Regions from separate parts of the Homo sapiens genome. Here region 1 is linked to region 2. Evidence: promoter capture Hi-C in 16 types of primary human blood cells and fetal thymus (Javierre and others, 2016). All regions are on one chromosome and are shown on one strand. Each heading gives the region's core, a stretch centred on a gene start or on the middle of the fragment in contact. The rest is flanking DNA. Distances are from core to core; before and after follow the strand shown.

Evidence for each region. The method cuts DNA at HindIII sites, captures the fragments that hold promoters and counts their contacts. A CHiCAGO score of 5 or more calls a contact.
Region 1: a contact is called between a fragment that was not itself captured here and the fragment with the promoter of YPEL4 in region 2, in 1 of 17 cell types (activated CD4 T cells). The highest score is 6.5, in activated CD4 T cells.

What each region holds. Positions count from the first base shown.
Region 1 is chr11:59,545,893-59,550,823 of GRCh38, reverse strand. It overlaps TRV-TAC1-1 (tRNA-Val (anticodon TAC) 1-1), which reads left to right and starts at 123; the gene lies at 123-195. It overlaps LOC102723575 (a long non-coding RNA gene), which reads right to left. Exons shown (of 4, transcript XR_950136.2): 3 at 4,849-4,931. RefSeq lists enhancers at 1-151, 307-526, 4,587-4,931. The HindIII fragment of the contact is 947 bases long and covers 904-1,850 here.
Region 2 is chr11:57,648,328-57,652,715 of GRCh38, reverse strand. It overlaps YPEL4 (yippee like 4), which reads left to right and starts at 2,804. Exons shown (of 5, transcript NM_145008.3): 1 at 2,804-3,031. It overlaps MIR130AHG (MIR130A host gene), which reads right to left. Exons shown (of 2, transcript NR_186232.1): 2 at 1-2,418. RefSeq lists an enhancer at 4,293-4,388. The HindIII fragment of the contact is 14,007 bases long and covers 1-4,388 here.

The DNA of each region.
Region 1 (4,931 bases), core at 128-2,627, 1.9 Mb before region 2:
TCCTTTTGAAAGTTTTTCTCTGTGCACAATCGCCGGATGTCAAGTCTACATGACCATTTCCCAGTGCCAAAATGTCTTTTTGAACAATTATCAAATCCTGGAGGAACGTTTTAGTCGTGTGGGGTTCCATAGTGTAGTGGTTATCACGTCTGCTTTACACGCAGAAGGTCCTGGGTTCGAGCCCCAGTGGAACCATGAGATGTTACCTAGCGTTTTGTGAGCCAGGTGTTGGGTTTTGCACCAGGAAGCTGGCGACGAACCCGTGTCTCAAGAATTTCTACGGCTTGTTTCCCGCCTGCTGCATCAGCCCGGTTTCTCTTAGCGCTCGGCGCTGAGTCGGCCTCCGCGGCGGCCCCCGTATGGCGCCTCTCTGGAGGTGCAGGCGGCTCCGCTCCACCGAGGCTTCGCTCGCCCCTGCGCCTGCGCCTTTCCACTACCTGGCCAGCCGGCTTCTGGGTTCCTGGGTGTTGCCCCTTGGCTCACCTACCTTCTCCTAAGCCTTGCTTGGGCCATCTCTAAAAATTGCCACCACTAAGTCGAAGGACATCACGAAGGCCGCCCTCATACTTTATTTATTTAAATTAAAAATGCTTTTTGAGGCCAGGCGCGGTGGATCATGCCTGTAATCCCAGCACTTTGGGAGGCTGAGGCGGGCGGATCACGAGGTCAGGAGATCGTGTCCATCCTGGCTAACACGGTGAAACCCCGTTTCTACTAAAAATACCAAAAAAATTAGCCAGGCGTGGTGGCGGGTGCCTGTAGTCCCAGCTACTCTACTCGGGAGGTTGAGGCAGGAGAATGGCGTGAACCCGGCAGGCGGAGCTTGCAGTGAGCCGAGATCGCGCCACTGCACTCCAGCCTGGGAGAGAGCCGTCTCAAAAAAAAAAAAAAAAAAAAAAAGCTTTTTGAAAAATTAATTTCATGCACAGAATTCAGAATCCCTCCACGTATTTCACAACTGATGTTTCCATCCCATCTTTCAATGGTTAGCTGTTTCTTTTGTGACCCTTCAGAAATTGTCTATGCATTCACCAGTATACACGTACATTTACTTTAAAACCCACTTCACGCTTTTTGTACGAAGGTAGCACACATAGGTACCGCTCCCATTTCCTCAACAATATTCTGAAAATCTTCCTATTTCGTTCATACATCTTCGCTTATCCTTTTACTTCCTGTGTTTGGATATATCACAATTCTTTATGCCTTTTGATGAACACTTAAATTGTATCTAGTCTTAGGAACAATGCTGAGCAGATTTCCTTGTTCCTTGGTTTCAGGCAGGGCAATATGTAAAATAATCCTAGCAAAACCTTGAACAGGCACTTACATGGGTAGCTAACTTAATGTTCACAATGTCTCTATTATTATTTATCCCGTTTTACAGACGAGGGAGAGGAAGCATAATGAGATTAAGAAATGGCCCAGGGTTACACCCCTGGTCAGGGACAGAACACAGTACCAACCCAAGCAAGAAGAGTGTTGCCTTTATGTCTCAGAAGAAATTTAATTGATGGCTGGGCGCACTGGCTCACACCTGTAATCCCAGCACTTTGGGAGGCCGAGGTGGAAGCATGGCTTGAACCCAGGAGTTTGAAACCAGCTTGGGCAAAAAAGTGAGACGCCCTCTGCAAACCCGTCCCACCAACCTCCCTGCTCGTCCCCACCAACCCTGCCACAGCTCCTTTCAAAACAGCTTGTATCAAATTACACTCACACCAATATGAAAGCCCTTGTTCTTCCTGTCTCTCTCAAATGAAAATAACTGAATTTTGAGTCAGCTGGAAATGGTTTATTTTGTGTTTTTTTATTGTGAGTTAGGTTGAACGTTTTTCATGTACTTAAAAGCTTCCTTTCTTCCTACTATCTGTTCACCTCTTTTGTTCAATTTTCTTATGTATATATTCTGTTAATTTATGTTTAAATTGGTTTTTAGGCCGGGCGCAGTGGCTCACGCCTGTAATCTGAGCACTTTGGGAGGCCGAGGAGGGCGGATCATGAGGTCAAGAGATCGAGACCATCCTGGCCAACATGGTGAAACCCTGTCTTTACTAAAAATACAAAAATTAGCTGGGTGTGGTGGCATGCACCTGTAATCCCAGCTACTCAGGAGGCTGAGGCAGGAGAATCGCTTGAACCTGGGAGGCGGAGGTTGCGGTGAGCCGAGATCGTGCCACTGTACTCTAGCCTGGTGACAGAGCGAGACTCCGTCTCTAAATAAATAAATAAATAAATAGGTTTTTAGGTGCTCTTTGTAAATTCAGATTTAGGATATATTTTGCAAATGTATCCAGAGTTGCCATTTGTCTTTTGATTATATTTTTGATATTCCGTGCGATGTAGAAATTAAACATTTTTTTGAAGTCAATTTCATCATCTTTTTGGGGGGGGTGCAGGAGAGGGGCTTTTAACATTTCCTGCCTAGAAAATACTTACTCACTTTGAGATTATATTTCAAAAATTATTCTATATTTTCTCCTGATTGTTGTATAGTTAAACATTTTCTAATGTTTCAACCTTCTGTCAGAGGCCTTGGAACCAGAGCAACTGCATCTTGAATAGGGGCTGGGTAAAATAGGGCTGAGACCTACTGGGCTGCATTCCCAGGAGATTAAGGCATTCTAAGTCACAGGATGAGATAGGAGGTCGGCACAAGATACAGGTCATAAAGACCTTTCTGATAAAACAGGCTGTGGTAAAGAAGCTGGCCAAAACCCACAAAACCAGGATGGCAAAGAGAGTGACCTCTGGTGCCCTCACTGCTCATTATATGCTAATTATACTGCATTAACATGTTAAAAGACACTCCCACCAGCACCATGACAGTTTACAGATGCCATGACAATGTCAGGAAGTTACCCTATATGGTCTAAAAAGATGAGGAACTCTCAGTTCTGGGAATTGTCCCCCACTTTCCCAGAAAACTCATGAATAATCCACCCCTTGTTTAGCATATAATCAGGAAATGACCATAAAGGTGGACAGCCAGCAGCCCTAGTGGGCTGCTCTGCCTAAGGAGTAGTGATTCTTTATTCCTTTGCTTTTTTTTCTTTTTCTTTTTCTTTTTCTTTTTTTTGGTGATGGAGTCTTGCTTTGTCGCCCAGGCTGGAGTGCAGTGGTGCAATCTCGACTCACTGTAACCTCCACCTCCTGAGTTCAAGTGATTCTCCTGCCTCAGCCTCCTCAGTAGCTGAGACTACAGGCACGAGCCACCACGCCGGGCTAATTTTTGTATTTTTAGTAGAGATGGGGTTTCACCATGTTGGCCAGGCTGGTCTTGAACTCCTTGACCTCAGGTGATTTACTCTCCTTGGCCTCCCAAAGTGCTGGGATTACAGGCATGAGCTACCGCGCCTGTCCTATTCCTTTACTTTCTTAATACACTTGCTTTCACTTTACTTTATGGACTTGCCCTGAATTCTTTCTTGTGCAAGATCCATGAACCCTCTCTTGGGGTCTGGATTGGGACCCCTTTCCGGTACCACTTTGATCCATATGAAATTTCTATAACTGGCATGAGATAGGAAAGATGGACTTCTTTAAAGGGATTTTATATAGCACTCTGGATAATCTAGGTGTGTATGCATAAATCGGTCACCCTGGTAAAATCCCAACAATTCCAGAAATGAAGCTGGTCCTGCCTGTAACATGTTGCTTAATGTCCTTTCCTTAGAACTTTCCAGAAGTTCTGCTGACCTAGACTTTCCTGCACATCCTCCTTGAGTTCATCAAACTCCCTTCTGCTTTCCTGCGTTCCTTAGGTTGGGTTAGTTCCCTTCTCATAAACAGCATAGTTTTGGGCAGTGTGGTGTAGACTCCAGAGATTCAACACAGGCAACCCCAGAGCCAAATCGAGGTTCAGTGTTATCTCCTCTTGGTTGTGTGAACTTACCACAGTATATACCAGTCTATGTGACCTTGGGCTAGTTGCTTAACTGCTATGGGCTAGCTTCCTCCTCTAAAATGGGGACAATAGCTCACATGATTCTGGAGAAGATTTATTTATTATTAATTAATTTATTATTATTATTATTTTTTGAGACAGTCTCGCTCTGTTGGCCAGGCCAGGCTGAAGTGCATTGGCACAATCTCAGCTCACTGCAACCTCCACCTCCTGGGCTCAAGCTATTACCCTGCCTCAGCCTCCCGAGTAGCTGGGATTACAGGCACCTGCCACCACGCCCAGCTAATTTTTGTATTTTTAGTAGAGACCGGGTTTCACCATGTTGGCCAGGCTGGTCTTGAACTCCCAGCCTCAGGTAATCCGCCTACCTTAGCCTTCCAAAGTGCTAGGATTAAATGATCTGTGTATAGTAAGCACAGAGTAAATGTCATCTACTGTTATTGTATTGCCAGGTAAGTCTGGTTCAATTTGCGTAGAACAATAAGGCTTTTCCTTGGGGACATTTCTAGAAAATGCTAATTGCTAAGCATATCAAATCTGTTTGCTCCTTGGCTTGTAAATCATTGTCCTCTGTCTCTATCGCTTCACACCGTCTTCCCTTTATGGGCATCTTGGTCTCCAAATTTCCCCTTTTTGTAAGGGACACCAATTATATAGTATCAGGGCCTACCCTAATAACCACATTTTAACGTTACCTTTATCTTAACTTTACTTTAACTTTACCTCTGTAAAGATCCTGTCTCCAAATAAAGTTATGTTCTAAGGTACTGGGGGTTGGGACTTAAACATATGAATTTCAAGGGGACAGAATTCAACCCATAGCCTAAGTTGTTAAAACAGAACATATAATTTTCCCCCCAAACATGGGCTCCTTCTGTTATTTCCCTTCTTGGTGAATGATATCACCATCTACCCAGGACTCCAGCCAGACACTGAGCGATTACCTTGTGTTTTCTCCCGCCATGCAGACAGTCACTGGAGCCTGCGGATCCTTTTGTCTGCAACTGAAACCGCCTTTGCAAAATTA
Region 2 (4,388 bases), core at 1,555-4,054:
GGGTTCAAGCGATTCTTCTGCCTCAGCCTCCCAAGTAGCTGTGATTACAGGCATACGCCATCACACCTGGCTAATTTTTTGTATTTTTAGTAGAGAGGGGGGTTTCACCACGTTGTCCAGGCTGGTCTCGAACTCCCAACCTCAGGTGATTCGCCTACCTCGGCCTCCCAAAGTGCTGGGATTACAAGGTGTGAGCCACCTCACCCAGCCAAGAATGCTTTTTTTTTTTTTGAAACAGAGTCTCGCTCTGTCACCAGGCTGGCGCGATCGGCTCACTGCAACCTCTGTGAGTACAGTGGCGCCATCTCAGCTTACCGCAACCTCTGACTTCCTGTTCAAGCGATTCTCCTGCCTCAGGCTCTCGAGTAGCTGGGATTACAGGCACGTGCCACCATGTCCAGCTAATTTTTGTTATTTATTAGGGATGGGGATTTCACCATGTTGGCCAGGATGGTCTCGATCTCCTGACCTTGTGATCTGCCTGCCTCGGCCTCCCAAAGTGCTGGGATTACAGGCGTGAACCACCGCACCTGGCGAGAATGTTGTTTTGAAATGACACTACTGTTTACTGCCTATCATGTGCCAGGCATTTTTCAGGCATTTAAATGTTATCTCACTTTATTCTGCATCTCCATGAGCTAATAATAATAAATATTATTAGCTTCATTTAGCAGAAGAGTAAGACTAAGGCACAAAGATTATCAGTAATTTGCCTAGTGGTTCCTGCCAAGTAATTGGCAGAGCTAAGAGTCTAATTCAGTCTCTTTGAGACCAAAGCCAGACACTTGGTTCATGTCTGAAGATGCAACTCAACTGCTCTATTAATCAGAGTTCTCTAGCGGGATAGAACTAATAGGATAGATGTATATATAAATCAGAGTTATTACGGAATATTGACTCAGATGATCACCAGATGAGGTCCCACAGTAGGCTGCCTGCAAGCTGAGGGGCAAGGAAGCCAGTCCGAATCCCAAAGTTGAAGACCTTGGAGTTCAATATTCGAGGGCAGGAAGCGTCCAGCATGGGAGAAAGACGTAGGCTCAGAGGCTAAACCAGTCTGGTCTTTCCACGTTCTTCTGTCTGCTTTTATTCTGGCCTAGCTGACAGTTGATTACATTGTGCCCATCCAGATTGAGGTGGGTCTGCCTTTCCTAGTCCATTGACTCAAATGTTAATCGCCTTTGGCAATACCCTCACAGACACACCCAGGAACAATACTTTGCATCTTTCAATCCAATCTAGTTGACAATATTAACCATCACCAGTCCACCCCTTGTCAACTTGAACCCATACACGTCTCCTGAAATCATACATGATCTTCAAATAAAGACAATAATAAGGTCATAATTACGCTTAACATAATACAGCTATCCTTTGTACAACCGGAAACGCACCAATCCCCAACCCAAATGCTATTACATAGAGTTAACAACACTTAAGTGCTGATATCAAGTCAGTAAGTCTTATGTCACATGATAAAGGCAAAAGAAAGGAAATAAAATGAAGATATTTTCTTAATACAAGTGTATATATGCACAAACATGTTCCTAACAAAAGGAGGAGGAAATACTCATGACAATTACAGTCCTCATTTTCTGCAGCTGGTCACATGGTCATAGTTCGTATTGATGACTACCTTCTTTGACTACCCATTCTGAATTCCGTTTGCCTTCAGCAAGCACCTCAGCAGATTATGTTTTTTTTACCTGGTGGAGTGACCCAAACCTTCATTCCTGAAGGGTCTGGGCCATTTGTCATCCTGCCTGGATTGGGCTGTTGCAGTTTCCCATTGACCTTAATCACAGGGCATGGTAATATTAAGAGACGCCCTACGTGATCTCCTGTATTCCACGCATACTTCCTTACCGCCATTGTGGAGTAGTAGACTGATTTCATCTTGATAGTCTGGGTCAAACACTGTAACTCCCTTCTTAGCAAGTTGGCTTAAAAGTAAGAAGAGCCCAAAGTGGCCAGGTGGCAATCTTAACTTCCAGTTTAATGGAATCATTGTTGTGTCTCTTGGTGGCAGCATTCCTCCCTCTGGAACTAAGACCTCTAGGCCAGCAGAACATAATGCCGCGGAAACAACTGCTATTTTGGAAACATCTAAATGCACGGGTCTGCACTGGACATTGCAGTCCTGGGATGTAGAGAGTAATTTCCCAGAAGGCCTGTCTCAGGAAGTTTACAGCCCAATAGAGAACTTCATATAACGTAGGTGTCTCCATTCATGAAGCACGCATAATATGGAGGTAGCTGTTAAGGGGTTCCTGCATGCAAAATGTCACATTGGGTCTATTACTCCTTCAGGAGTATTAAACCAAGGCTTTGAGGCTTGGTACAAGTTTGGGGGCACAGTTTGCCATCCATGACAATTAGTACATCTGTCTTTTCCCTGCTTCAGGGCTGGTGTCCAAGCTGAAATGGGAAAGTGTATCATCTTAAATGTGTGTGTGCTCCCTCACTCTGCATCCATCTCTTCCTTCACCAGCCTTGCCACCTCCTTTCCTCCAGCCCTGCCACCCTCACTGCATCCTTGCCCAGCCCTGTCCTTCCCCCAGGTTCTTCGTATCTCCTTGGCCCCACTGCCTTCCTCCTTAACAACCTGCCTCTCCCCTTGCCCACCATCGCCGCCTTGTCCCTCGGCCCCCACTCCTCTAGCCCCGTCCCTTGATGCCTACCCCCTCCCTTCCTTCCGACCCGCCTCCTGTGTCTCCCAGCCCTGCTCTGACGTGGGAGGTGAGGGGGGGTGGGGGGGATGGATGACTCACAGTGTTATGATGCAGTTCCACAACACACAGCCACATTCACCCACAGACCGAGGTACAGAACGAGAGACAACCTCTGCCCCCCCAGCAGCTGGCCAGCTTTGCAGCCCCAGTCTTGAGCCCCCAACTACCCTCCCCCCACCCACCCCCATCCCCTTCCCAATTGAAGGAGCGGAAAGAGAAGAGAGAAGAGTGAGCAGAGAGATTGAGAGATTGAGAGAGAGAGAGAGAGATAGACGGAGATCTCTGGAGCAGACCTCAAGGTGAGGGGGCAGCCCTTCTCCAAATGAATTTTTTTCTCTTTGCAAATTTCCTCCTCCTGCTGCGTGTTGCTTTCTCCCCTTTGCAAAAGCATTATTCATCCACCCTTTGTCCTCCCTTCCCCCTCCCCGCTGCCTCCGCTCCTCTCTCTCGGTTCCTCCATCCCTCTCCAAGCTCTGACGATTCCCGCACTTATTTCCCGGCAACTTTGGCTGCAGCATCAGGCATCACTGTTTATTGTTTTGCTGCTGGTGCAGACCCCCAAAGCCTGCCCTGGGAGCTGGCGGTGCTGCTAATTATTTGGACCATACCATACTGAGAATACCAGCCTGGGGGGTGCCAAAACCTCAGAGCAGATGAGAAAATCCATTGTGAGCAGGTGTCCCCCCCCTTTTCTTTTCCCCCCTGAGAAGCACGAGATTCGCACCTGGTTCCTCCAGCCTCCGCCTCGGCGCCTCTGCTGTCAGCTGTCAGTTGCCCCCGCCAGCCCTCCCTCTCCCCTTTCTCCTACGGTCCAGCCCCGTCTCACTTCAGGGGAACATCTCTCCCCAGCACTCGGCTTGCCTTTGTTTTTTCTCCAGTCATTTGCCCAACTTGCTTCTCCCTGTGATCCGAGATGGGTGAAAAAATGACCCCTACTCCCCTTTGTGATTCTCTGGCCTTCTGTGCAGCCTTTCCTTGGCTTGACTGGGAATTAGGGGAGAGGGAGGGAGGCGTGACGGCCGGAGGCTGGAGAAGGAGCTCAGGATTGGGGACCCAAGCTGCCCCATTCTCCATGCCCCTTGAAGAAGGTGTTTCAAGGTGGTGCATGTCAGAGGGGAACTCGCTGGCAAAGTTGAAGGCAAACCTGTGAAGCAGAGACTGAAAGGTGGTCTCTTGGCAAGGAGGGCCCGTTTCCTGCAGCCGGAGCCCAATGTCACCCTGAACTCAGCCCAAGGTGTCTTCCTGGGACCCAGCCCGGAGGAGAGGACCTGAAACTGAAGATAGTCTCTATGGAGGTTTTGCGGAGAGACTGCCTGGCGGCCTTCAGAGAGAGTGGAACAGCTGGGTGCCTGTGGCCACTGCGGAGGACAGGACGAGGAGAGCCTGTATGCCCTGGCTAACCAGAGCCAACACTGCCTCTTCTCTGCTTAGTGCTCTAGCATTGCCAGAGTGCCCAGCTGGCATCTCTGAACCAGACTTAGGCTAACCACCCACAGTGGGCTGGGAAGCCCTATGAAGGAGAAAGCAGCAGCTCACCTGCTTATCGGAGCCAACAGGGGCCACCTCCCTTCTTATCCTCTGCCTCCAGCACCTTCAGCCACTCGGAGGCTGGCGCGTGGGCAGAAGGCAATCTTCCTCTATTCCTAATCAGAACCC